Linked DNA regions of Homo sapiens: region 1 is linked to region 2. Evidence: promoter capture Hi-C in 16 types of primary human blood cells and fetal thymus (Javierre and others, 2016). All regions are on one chromosome and are shown on one strand. The core of a region is centred on a gene start or on the middle of the fragment in contact, and the rest is flanking DNA. Distances in the headings are between cores, read along the strand shown. Region 1 overlaps LOC105373909 (a long non-coding RNA gene). Region 2 holds the start of FAM124B (family with sequence similarity 124 member B).

Region 1 (5,704 bases), core at 995-3,494, 240 kb before region 2:
CGTTAAGAACCACTCATCAACTGCTATTGTCCTATAACTTTTAAATAACAAATGTTTGATTCTCATTTTGAATATTAGTAATACATATTTAGCCTTCATTTTCCCCCCTGATTTTGTACCTTGCTTGTCTCTGCCCATGGATAGAAGACCATTATATAAGTATAGTAAAGTCTTAATTTGAGATTGTTGAGTTATGAAAACGATAACCAAATAGCTGTGTGATAATGCAAGTCATTAAAAGTGAAACTGAGCTATTGCATTGTATGTGCACCTGTTCCATAGTTCACTTTAGTGTGCTGAATTATATTACCTGACTCTGCTAGAGTCTTTCCACTTACACTCCCTCCAGAATGCCTGCATCAGGTAAGGCCCATAGAAGCCTCAAGACAAAAGCAAGTCATTGCCTAATTATGGATGATGCCATCGTTATGCACAGCAGGTGCAATTCAGGTCCCGGGAAGCCATAGGAATTGAACAATACTGCCTCTGTGTAACCTGATTGCCAAGGAAGTAAAAACAACCTGTATTCAAAATACAGATATCTGTGGCATTGGGGCCAGCCCTAGATTAGCTTGTCAAGTATGCCCAGGTCACCTTCGGTCACGGGCTTCATCTTTTCAGCATCCTTCTTGCTCCCAAGTCCAGTCTTTCTCCTGCCCCAGAGCAGCTTCTGAGGATCCACCCACCTGAGCCTGTCACTCCAGTGGTTCCTGGTGCTCTAACCATTCTCCCATGTATATTGACCTTTCTGGATCCTATTTCTGGCTGGTCTCACAAACTAATCTGCAGTAGTCTAGATCAGCATTTCTAAACTGGTGGTCTGTGGGTCAAGGCCACTCCCCTGAAACATACATTTCTTTAGCCAACAAGGTGTTTCTAAACTCTTTGGTTAAACTGCTAACATTAATAAACCCAGAAATCTCATCTATTAATAAAAATTTCAGATTTCCAGCTTCTCTGAAAGAATCTGCAAGTGATACTGCTGGTATTGAAATAGTTGGCCATAGCCTATTTTAACAGATCTGATTCTGATTGTGGACCCTTCATCGCAGAGCTTGCACCCTCATTTATTTGTGTGACCTGTCTCGCCCCTGTAGCCATCTGAGTGTGTGATCCTCTCATTTAGATCCCAGAGATTAGATTTGTGTGATAATGTTGTAATTATTTCTGGAACACAAAATCAGCAAGGATAATGGAGGATGTAATAAAATTTAACACAATAACTTTTTTTTCTTTTAGACTGAATCTCACTCGCTCTGTCACCAGACTGGAGTGTAGTGGCGCGATCTTTGCTCACTGCAACCTCCGCGTCCCGGGTTCAAGTGATTATTGTGCCTCAGCCTCCCAAGTAGCTGGGACTACAGGCGTGCGCCACCACGCCCGGGTAATTTTTGTATTTTTAGTAGAGAAGGGGTTTCATCATGTTGGCCAGGATGGTCTCGAACTCCTGACCTTGTGATCTGCCTGCCTCCGCCTCCCAAGGTGCTGGGATTACAGCTGTGAGCCACCACGCCCAGCCCCACAATAACTAACTTTTTAATGCTGTTAAAGTACTTTTCATGGACGTAATTATTTAAATAATAGACATTCATCAAGGGCCTCTTTTATCAACAGCTTTTTTTTTTTTTTGAGATGGAGTCTCGCTCTGTCACCCAAGCTGGAGTGCAGTGGCGTGTACTTGGCTCACTGCAAACTCCACCTCCTGGGTTCACACCATTCTCCTGCCTCAGCCTCCCAAGTAGCTGGGACTACAGGCGCCTGCCACCAAGCCTGGCTAAATTTTTTTTTTTTTTTTTTTGGTATTGTTAGTAGAGATGGGGTTGCACCGTGTTAGCCGGGATTGTCTTGATCTCCTGACCTCATGATCTGCCCGCCTCAGCCTCCCAAAGTGCTGGGATTACAGGCGTAAGCCACTGCGCCCGGCCTCAACAGGTATTTTTTAAGTGCTATAATCAAATACCAGTCACAGTTTAAAGCATTTCCCATAAAATATTTCATCCAATTCTCACAGCAACCATAACAAGAAGGTACCATTATTATTCTCTTATTGGGAATAAGGAAACTGAGGCACAGAGAGGGTAAGAAACTTGTTCCCATGTCCCACCACCCAAAATTCCAGATGGAAAGGAATTGAAAGGCCTGACTCCACACTCGAAGCCAAGCTTACCTGGGCTGTTTACTGCCTCTGAAATTAAGTCAATTCTCATAAAAACTCTAAGAAGCCATAATTATTACTACTCTGCCTTTCAGATGAGGGAATTAGAGCTCAGAGAATTAAGAAACTCTCCTGAAAGTACTTGTCAAAGCACTGCAGATGAGAAGCTTTTTACAGTTGACACCAGCTTCCCACAGAGTCAGCCCAAAGCCGCTAGGCTGGGGTTTCGGTACCACCAATCACCAATGGCTGCAGCATCCCTTCCCCAAAGACCCTAAACCAAAGGAGACATGCGTAGGGGTCTGCTCTGCTCTAGCCCCCAAACCTTGTTCAGGATCAGCACAGGCAGCCAGGATGGCATTTTTTGTTTGTTTGTTTTTTGAGACAGAATCTTGCTGTCGCCCAGGCTGCAGTGCAGTAGTGCCATCTTGGCTCACTGCAACCTCTGCTTCCAGGGTTCAAGTGATTCTCGTGCCTCAGCCTCCCGAGTAGCTGAGATTACAGATGTGCACCACCATGCCTGGCTAATCTTTGTATTTTTAGTAGAGATGGTGTTTCACCATGTTGGCCAGGCTGGTCTCGAACTCCTAACCTCAGGTGATCCGACAGCCTCGGCCTCCCAAAGCGCTGGAATTACTGGTGTCAGCCACCACGCCCGGCCTAGGATGGCATTTTCTATTCACCAAGCCAAGAAGTCACACCACCTGAAGGCAAGACCCATTGTCCAGGGCCCATGCCAAGCCAAATGAACTTGCCATGCCCTGGGAGGCTGCTCCTGTTCTACTGAGGTGCAGAAGAAGCAGAAGTGGGAGCCACGAGTAGAGTAGGAAAATGGGACAGTTGGAGGATAATTGAAGCAAAACTTACAAAGTAGTCCAACACATGTATCCATAAAGGAAAAATCCTAGAGGATTCAAGAAGTAATCAACCTCTCTTCTCTAATACCAACAAATCTATAGCCCAGTCTTGTTTCTCACTGATAATAGCATATACAGGACTGAGTGCATCTTGTACAATACAAGACACTGCTCCCTTTTAAAACACACAATGGAACATTAAGAGCGCCCTGGATTTCCCATCAACAAATGCTCAGCCAAAAGCCTGAAGTCATCCTTTATTCCTTCTGTTCTTTCACTCCTGTGTTTTATCCATCTGATAGATCCTATCAGCTCCTCTCCAAAATTTATCCCAAATCCATCCTCTTCTCTCCAGCTCAGCTGCTAGAAGCATTGGCCAAACCACAGTCACCTCTCACCAGGAGTATCGCATTAGCCCTCTCACTCATTCTTTTGCATGCTCCCTTGCCACCTTAACCTCTCCAGTCTCCTTTTCAAACAGCCAAATGAATACTCCCTGTAAAATATAAATCAAATCACATGGTTCCAATGTTCAAAACCCTCCTGTCACATTTACAATAAAGTTCAAATTTCTTGCCATGTCCTAGAAGACCCAATTTCCTTCTTCATCTTTACTCCACAAATGCTCTCGTTTGTCAAGCACCAGGAACCCTGACCTTCTTCCTGCTCCTCAAACCACACCAAGTTCATTTCACTTGCATACACTCTGCCTCCAACTCTGTTTTCCTGCATGTTTCTATTGCTGTTTTCTCTCTTCCCTCCTATTTCTTTTCTGATGTCTCCTCCTTAAAGGTTCATTCCCAGTCACAATTTCTAAGGTAGCCCTTCTTCATTGTCTCCCCTGCCTCATCCCTGATGACTCTGCCATCTCACACTGCCCTGTTCCTTTTTGTTTCCTTCACACTGAGAACTGTCTGAAATTCTCTAGTATACATATTTGCTTGCTGGTTTCTTGTTAGCCTTCTGCTAGAATGTAATCTCCATGAGAACACAGATGTTGTTCAGAGCTATGACCTCAGAACCTAGAACCAGGCCTGGAACAGAATAGTTGCTCAATAAATATTTGCTAAATGAAAGAATGAAATTATAAACTTACCATCATATTCCTAGCTTTAGGGAAGATTTAAAAAAACCAGTAAGAAAACAATGCTCAGTATATATTTTTTGAATGAAGTGATAAACTCACTATCATATTCCTAGCTTTAGGAAGATAAGAGTAAGAAAACAAAAGGAAATTAGAAAGTGTGGAAAGAAAACTTGTCATTTTATTTAAAGCGCCTACAAGGAGCTCAGCACAGTGCCTCAAATTAAGCCCCCAACAAACAGTACCTGTGTTTGTTGATACTACATGCCCACTGATTTACACGCACAATTGCATTTAATAATCTCATGGATCCTGTGAAATGGACACTAGTGGTCCCATTTTACAGAAAAGGAAGCTGAGGCTGAGAGTTTAAGTAACATGGGCCAAACAGCTAGAAAGTAACAGAACTGACCCCAAAGCCAGAGTTATTTTTCCTCCCACTGCTCTGTGGCTTTGACTGCTGTCTCTGAGATTCACTGACATGACGTTCCATCCTTGCACATTCTCCTACAAAAAAGTGGAGCTAAAAAGAACTTGTCCCCAGGGCCAGGCATGGGGCTAGCCAACATGGAGAAACTGCATCTCTACTAAAAATTAAAAAATTAGCCGGGCATGGTGGCGGGCACCTATAGTCCCAGCTACTCGGGAGGCTGAGGCAGGAGAATTGCATGAACCCGGGAGGCAGAGGCTGCAGTGAGCCGAGATCATGCCACTGCACTCCAGCCTGGGCGACAGAGAAAGACTCTGTCTCAAAAAAAAAAAAAAAAAAAGAACTTGCCCTCTATATCCTAGGCATGTGACCAAGGCAAGAAGATAACGCTAAAAAATTGTTTCAGCATCTTTGACAACAAAGTGACTCTTGATTACCTGGAATGCCGGAACGAATTGTGTCCACACTGATATAGTGAAGTCCAACAATGGAAGGCCTGTTGATGGATGTGTCCATTCCTGCTCATATCTGTATAAGATAACTTCTATATTTGCTGGTCTAGTCAGCCAATGACCTAGGATCCTAGGTTTCCCCATCAATTATGATGTGTTGGAAAAAGACCGTGATGTGGTCATACATAATGATTATAAACAAATTCACAAATTGGCTTTCCCATGTGAAGAACCATTATCAATAATCAATTTATTAAGGAATTTATTTTTTTAATTAAAAAAATAACACACTGGGAATGTAAAATGATATGACCCCTCTGAAAAACAGCTGGGCAGTTTCTTAAAAAAGACTACACATGCTCTTACGACATATCCTAGCAATTGCATTTATCCCAGATAAATAAAAACGTAAAGCCACACAAACTTGTACATGGTTATACACAGCAACTTGATTTGAAATAGCCAAAATACTATGACACATCCGCCCAGTGGAATACTACCCAGCAATAAAAAGAAATGAACTTTGGATACACGCAATAACTTGGAAGGATTGCAAAGGCTTATGCTAAGTGAGAAAAGCCCAATCTCAAAAGAGCACATACCATATGATTCCATTTATTTAACTATCTCAAAATGACAAGTTTATACAAATGGAAAATAGACCTGTGGTTGCCAGAGTTTAGGGGTTGGGAGAGGGGCAGGTAGCAAGAGGGATGGTGTGGGGAG
Region 2 (5,680 bases), core at 2,192-4,691:
CAGGCCCCTGGCTTCCTTCCACCCTCCTCTTCATTGAACCTCCACTCCAGCCACCTTGAACTGCTTGCAGTTGCACCAGTGTGTGACAGTCCTGGCCCCCTCGTCTAACTCAGTGTCTCCCCATGGGGTCTCCATACATCCTGCAGCACCCTTTATCATGGCACTGACTGCATCATTTAGGGTGCCCCTCCAAAGTGGGGGATGGTGACGATTCTATCTTCTGCTCCTGGTGCAACGCCTGGCTCTTGACATGTGAGATAAACATATTTTATAAATTAAAGATGGAAAGGAACTTTTTCTCAGAGTTTTCCTGGGTTGGGGGTGGGTGGGAATCTCGAGGTTATAATGCATCCCATTGTATTTTGTAGAAAGGACAAATCCCCGAGGATTTTCATGGGTTCCAATGGAGCCTCGGATTTTCTAGGTTTGCTTGAGCGACTCATCACCAGCCTCTCCATTTGCTGTGAGGAGTGGACCAACCATCTGCCATCCAGGAGCTGATGACTGCAGAAACCTGGGCATCATTGCCTGCCAAGTTTAAGAAAAATAAGATAGAGAATTGGAGTGACAGCTGTCCGGGTGCTGAGAGTCAAAGCTGATGATTTCCCTTAGTATTTTTGTCTGTGCCTTCAACAGAAGCACCATGCTAAAACACTGTTGTGCTGCACAGCTGAGAATCTGGCATTTGTTGTGGGTGGAAGGCAGTGACCAAAGGTGGAGGCAGTTTGGGGAAGGTCAGTCAGTATTTCACGTTGTTCCTGGGGAAATAATCACAGAGACAGCCAGTCAGAAATGAGGCTGGTCCCCCTCTTCCCTGGCCTCCTGCCCCTTGGATTTGTTGGCACTTTGGCTGCCAACAGATTAATGAAATCTTTTCAATCCTGAAAGAAATGACAACCTCATCAGGAAAAAAGTGTATTTTCAGCATTAGATGGAAGATAATATCAAGAAACAAAATCTTTTCCTATGTAAGAGCTTTAATACTTACCTTGTGCAAAATGTTGTGAGTTAATATCGTGGTTTCAGGGGAACAATTTTTCTCCTCAAATCTTTAGAGTTATTTCCAGAATTTCAAAGCCTATTTCAAAAACTATAGTTTTGTCTAAAGTACAATCAGCTCTGTGAATGGAAGGGTTGCGGAAGGGAGAGTGTTCACACTGAGAGATGAGATAGTTATCTGCTTCCAATGCCAATGCATAACATGAATGCTGTCGAGTTTTTTTTAAAAAAGCTTGAGATTTGTAATGCCAAAAAAAAAAACCTCTAATGATTTTTTTAAAAGTTGAAACAAGATGAATTTAATTACTGAGCTGCTCACAATAACTAGGAAACAATTCCTCTGTTATAAATTGTATTTATGTATTTTTCCCATGCAAAAAGTACAGGAATTATGAAACACAAATGATTAGAATTGTACGTTAGATTTACATAGTGAATCTGAATAGAAATAACTCCTTTTCTTGGATAATAATATTTTACTTTAAATTAGGTTGTTATACTATTAAAGGAATCCAGATATATAAAGTTGTTATATTTTTCATCACAAAAGTATTTTTTAATGTAAAAAATTGTCACACTGTGTTTCATTATAAGGATTCATAAATTTGCCTCTTTTATTTTAATTTTTTACAGCTCTTTTTGAAGTACATTTTTTTTCTTTGAGACAGGGTCTTGCTCTGTTGTCCAGGCTGGAGTGCAGTGGCATGAATTTAGGTCAGCACAGCCTGGAACTCCTGGGCTCAAGCGATTGTCCTGCTTTGGCCTCCCAAAGTGTTGAAATTACAGTTGTGAGCCACTTCGCCTGGTCCAATTGCCTCTTTTAAAAAGAATTGTGTTTAGAAAAAGTGCTTGTTCATACCTGTTGAGGAGCACAGCTATCAGGAGAGCAAATGATTTTTTAAAAATATTTATTTATTTATTTATTTTTATTATTTTTTATTTTCTGAGACGGAGTCTTGCTCTATCACCCAGGCTGGAGTGCAGTAGTGCGATCTGCAACCTCCACTTGCTGGATTCAAGTGATTCTTGTGCCTCAGCCTCCTGAGTAGCTGGGATTACAGGCATGCTCCACTTTGCCCGGCTAATTTTTGTGTTTTTAGTACAGACGGGGTTTTGCCATGTTGCCTAGGCTGGTCTCGAACTCCTGACCTCAGGTGATCCACCCGCCTCGGCCTCCCAAAGTACTAGGATCAAGGCGTGACGACTATGCGTGGCCACAAATAATTTTTAAATCAATATTTAGAACACATTTAGGGTGAGTGTTTAGAGCTTGACAACTTTCTCATTGAAGATTATTCCGTTTAAGATTCAACAGCTCAAGAGTCTGCAAATCTAGATCCTTAACCAGAACTTGCTTTTATATCTTTTCCTTACAAGAAGAATACCCAGGCTGGGACTTCAAGGCCCCAGAGAGGCAGTGCAGCAAGTTCCTGGGTTCAAATCATCCTTCAGCTACTTCTTAGCTGTGAGACCTTGGGCAAGTTACCTAGCCTTTCTATGCCCCAGTTTCTTCATCTGTAATTTGGGGCTAGTAATCTCTTCTTCATAGGTTTGTTGCAAGATTAAATTAATTTACATTAAGGGCCAGGTGTGGTGACTCATGCCTGTAATCCCAGCACTTTGGGAGGCCAATGCGGGCAGATCACCTGAGGTCAGGAGTTCGAGACCAGTCTGGCCAACATGGCAAAACCCAGTCTCTACTAAAAATACAAAAAAATTAGCTGGGCGTGTTGGCGCACTTATAATCCCAGGTACTGGGGAGGCTGAGGCAGGGGAATCTCTTGAACCTGGGAGGTGGAAGTTGCAGTGAGCCAAGATCACGCCACTGCACTCCAGCCTGGGCGACAGAGCAAGACTCCATCTCCAAAACAAAACAAAACTAATTACTTTAAGAATTAGAACAGTTTATGACTGGTACATAGTAGATCCTCATTAGACACTAAAAATTATAATTACAATTGTTAATTATAATTATTTATTATTATAATTATATGAGCAATTATAGGAAAGCTCTCACTCTTTCTAAAGAATTTGCGTGAATAAAGGAAGACTAATTTTCTCAATGTCTTTTTAGTACACTCAGAATTTTCGGTACAGCAAATAATTTTCAGTGAAGTCAAAATTATTTAGATAAAGTCTTCTCTTCGTGCCCTAGCAGAAAATGTTCAGAAACAAAATGAAATAAAGAGACAAAGGAAAAAAAAAACTGGCAAAGGGTCAGGTTTTGAGAATTGTTTTCAAGAAGTCATTGTATTCAGATTGGTGGAGCAGGCTACTGTAAACCGTAAGTAGGAAATGAGAACCCGTTGTAAGTTGATAAAATGGATGTCTTTTCAACTAAACAGATTGCTATCAGCCTAACAGAGCCAACTCATGTTCCTTTTCGGCCGGTCATTTCCTGTACTAAGTGTCTATAAGAGCCGCCCATTTGGGTGTTTCTCAGGATTATAGGTTTTTAGGTCACGCAGAAACCCTGGGGAACGCCTGAAAAGGCTAAACACAAGCAGTTACATTATGCACAAGCTGGATGACGTGACCCCGCTGCTGCTGTGTGGAGAGGGAGGCTGCTGAACCCGAGCTGGTGTGAGCTTCTCTTGCCGTAAGTCCACGGGTGGCCAGGAGCACGTGTTAGTCTGGTTAAGAGCTCTGCTCAGAAGTAGCCGCTGCAGCTGAAGGTTTTCAGGCGGGCTGAAGGCTGGGCCGCTTCTTCATTCATTTCAGAAACTTGAACAGTGGGCCTTCTACACACGCTGTCTTTGTCAGCCTCAGGCAGTTCCTCCATGGATGAGACACAGGGGCCTCTGGCCATGACTGTCCATCTTCTTGCCAACTCTGGGCACGGCTCCCTTCTGCAGAGGACTCTGGACCAGCTCCTGGATTGCATTTGCCCAGAGGTCCGGCTCTTTCAGGTGTCTGAACGGGCCAGTCCTGTGAAATACTGTGAAAAGTCCCATTCCAAGCGGTCCCGGTTTCCAGGGATGTCCGTGTTGCTCTTCCTGCACGAAAGCCCGGGAGAGGATAGGCTATTTCGCGTCCTGGACTCTCTCCAGCATTCGCCATGGCAGTGCTACCCCACCCAGGACACTCGGGGAAGGCTGTGTCCCTACTTTTTTGCCAATCAGGAGTTCTACAGCCTGGACAGTCAGCTGCCCATCTGGGGGGTGAGGCAGGTGCACTGTGGCTCCGAGATCCTGAGGGTGACGCTGTACTGCAGTTTTGATAACTATGAAGACGCCATCAGACTCTACGAGATGATCCTGCAGAGAGAAGCGACCTTGCAAAAGAGCAATTTTTGTTTCTTCGTGCTCTATGCCTCCAAGAGCTTTGCTCTGCAGCTCTCCCTGAAGCAGCTGCCCCCGGGAATGTCAGTGGACCCCAAAGAGTCTTCGGTGCTGCAGTTTAAGGTTCAAGAGATCGGCCAGTTAGTGCCTCTGCTACCCAATCCATGCATGCCTATCAGCAGCACCAGGTGGCAGACTCAGGACTACGATGGCAACAAGATTCTGCTTCAGGTATTTCTGTTTTGTCTCAGATCTTGTAGAGGCTCATGGAGCTGTGTAATTTTACATCGGAATGGGCCTAAGCTAGTGGTTCTCAGACTTGGTTGCATATTAGCGTCCCTTAGGGTCTTTCATAAATTCCCACCCCAGGGCAGTTTGATCCGAATCTCTGGGAACATCCAGGCCTAGGTAACTTTTTTACAGCTTCTTGGATGACTGTAATCTGTAACAGGGTTGAGAATCACTGATCTCATAAAATCTCATCTGACAGATAAGAAAGTTCAGATTCCATGAATTTGCAGCTGACACAAGTACTTTATAGTAGAATCAGACAGGATTCTACTATAAAGATCAGAATCCTATTAAAGAATCGGCCTCCTTTCTCAGGCTTGCCGTTTAAATGCCCATCAACTATACCCCTATCCTTTGTTTACTCTTTGGGCTCAGGAATGTCACAAGCTCTTCTAATCTGACTTAAGGAAGTTGAAGTCATACTTATGTTTAGATATGGTTTTTTTAATTTTTAATTTTTTTATTTTTTAGAGATGGGAGTCTTCCTCTGTTGCCCAGACTCGAGTGCGGTGGTGCCATCATAGCTCCCTGAGGTCTTCACCTTCTGGGTTCAAGTGATCCTCCTGCCTTAGCCTCCTGATTAGCTGGGACTACAGGCACGTGCCGCCATGTCTGGCTATTTTATTTTATTTCTAGAGACGGGGTCTCACTATGTTGGCCGAGCTTGTTTAGGGATGTTAAGTTTGCAGTACTATTGACTTAATTTTTATTCTTTATTATTATACTTTAAGTTCTGGGGTACATGTGCACAAAGTGCAGGTTTGTTACACAGGTATACATGTGCCATATTGGTTTGTTGCACCCATCAACTCGTATTGACTTAATTTTTAAGCATCTTGCATCACTGTCAAATTTTACCACATACCAAGTTAGATAGAATGCTTTCTTAAAAAAACTTGAAATTAAAGCCTTCCTTTGTAACCATCCTCGAAAACCTAACATAGCATGTGTGTATTTAGTCATGATAGCTGCCGTGCATTGCCTTTCCATGGTATGTGAGCCTGGGCACTTAGTAGCTGTATGACTGTGGGCCTCAGTTTCTTCATTAGCACAATAAAGGCACCCGAGAATTAGCATCTTCCTCTCTCATACTTACTTACAGGAAATGA

The links. Contacts are between HindIII fragments. The CHiCAGO score rates a contact against its expected background, and 5 or more counts as called.
Region 1: a fragment that was not itself captured here is called in contact with the fragment with the promoter of FAM124B in region 2 in 16 of 17 cell types (megakaryocytes, fetal thymus, erythroblasts and 13 more); the score reaches 12.4 in megakaryocytes.

Annotation. Positions count from the first base shown.
Region 1 is chr2:224,640,667-224,646,370 of GRCh38, reverse strand. All of the region lies in intron 2 of LOC105373909 (a long non-coding RNA gene), which reads right to left. Among named protein-coding and RNA genes, the nearest start is that of CUL3, 58 kb to the right of the region's middle. The HindIII fragment of the contact is 160 bases long and covers 2,165-2,324 here.
Region 2 is chr2:224,399,868-224,405,547 of GRCh38, reverse strand. It overlaps FAM124B (family with sequence similarity 124 member B), which reads left to right and starts at 3,441. Exons shown (of 2, transcript NM_001122779.2): 1 at 3,441-4,511. The coding sequence starts at 3,780. The HindIII fragment of the contact is 5,745 bases long and covers 1,234-5,680 here.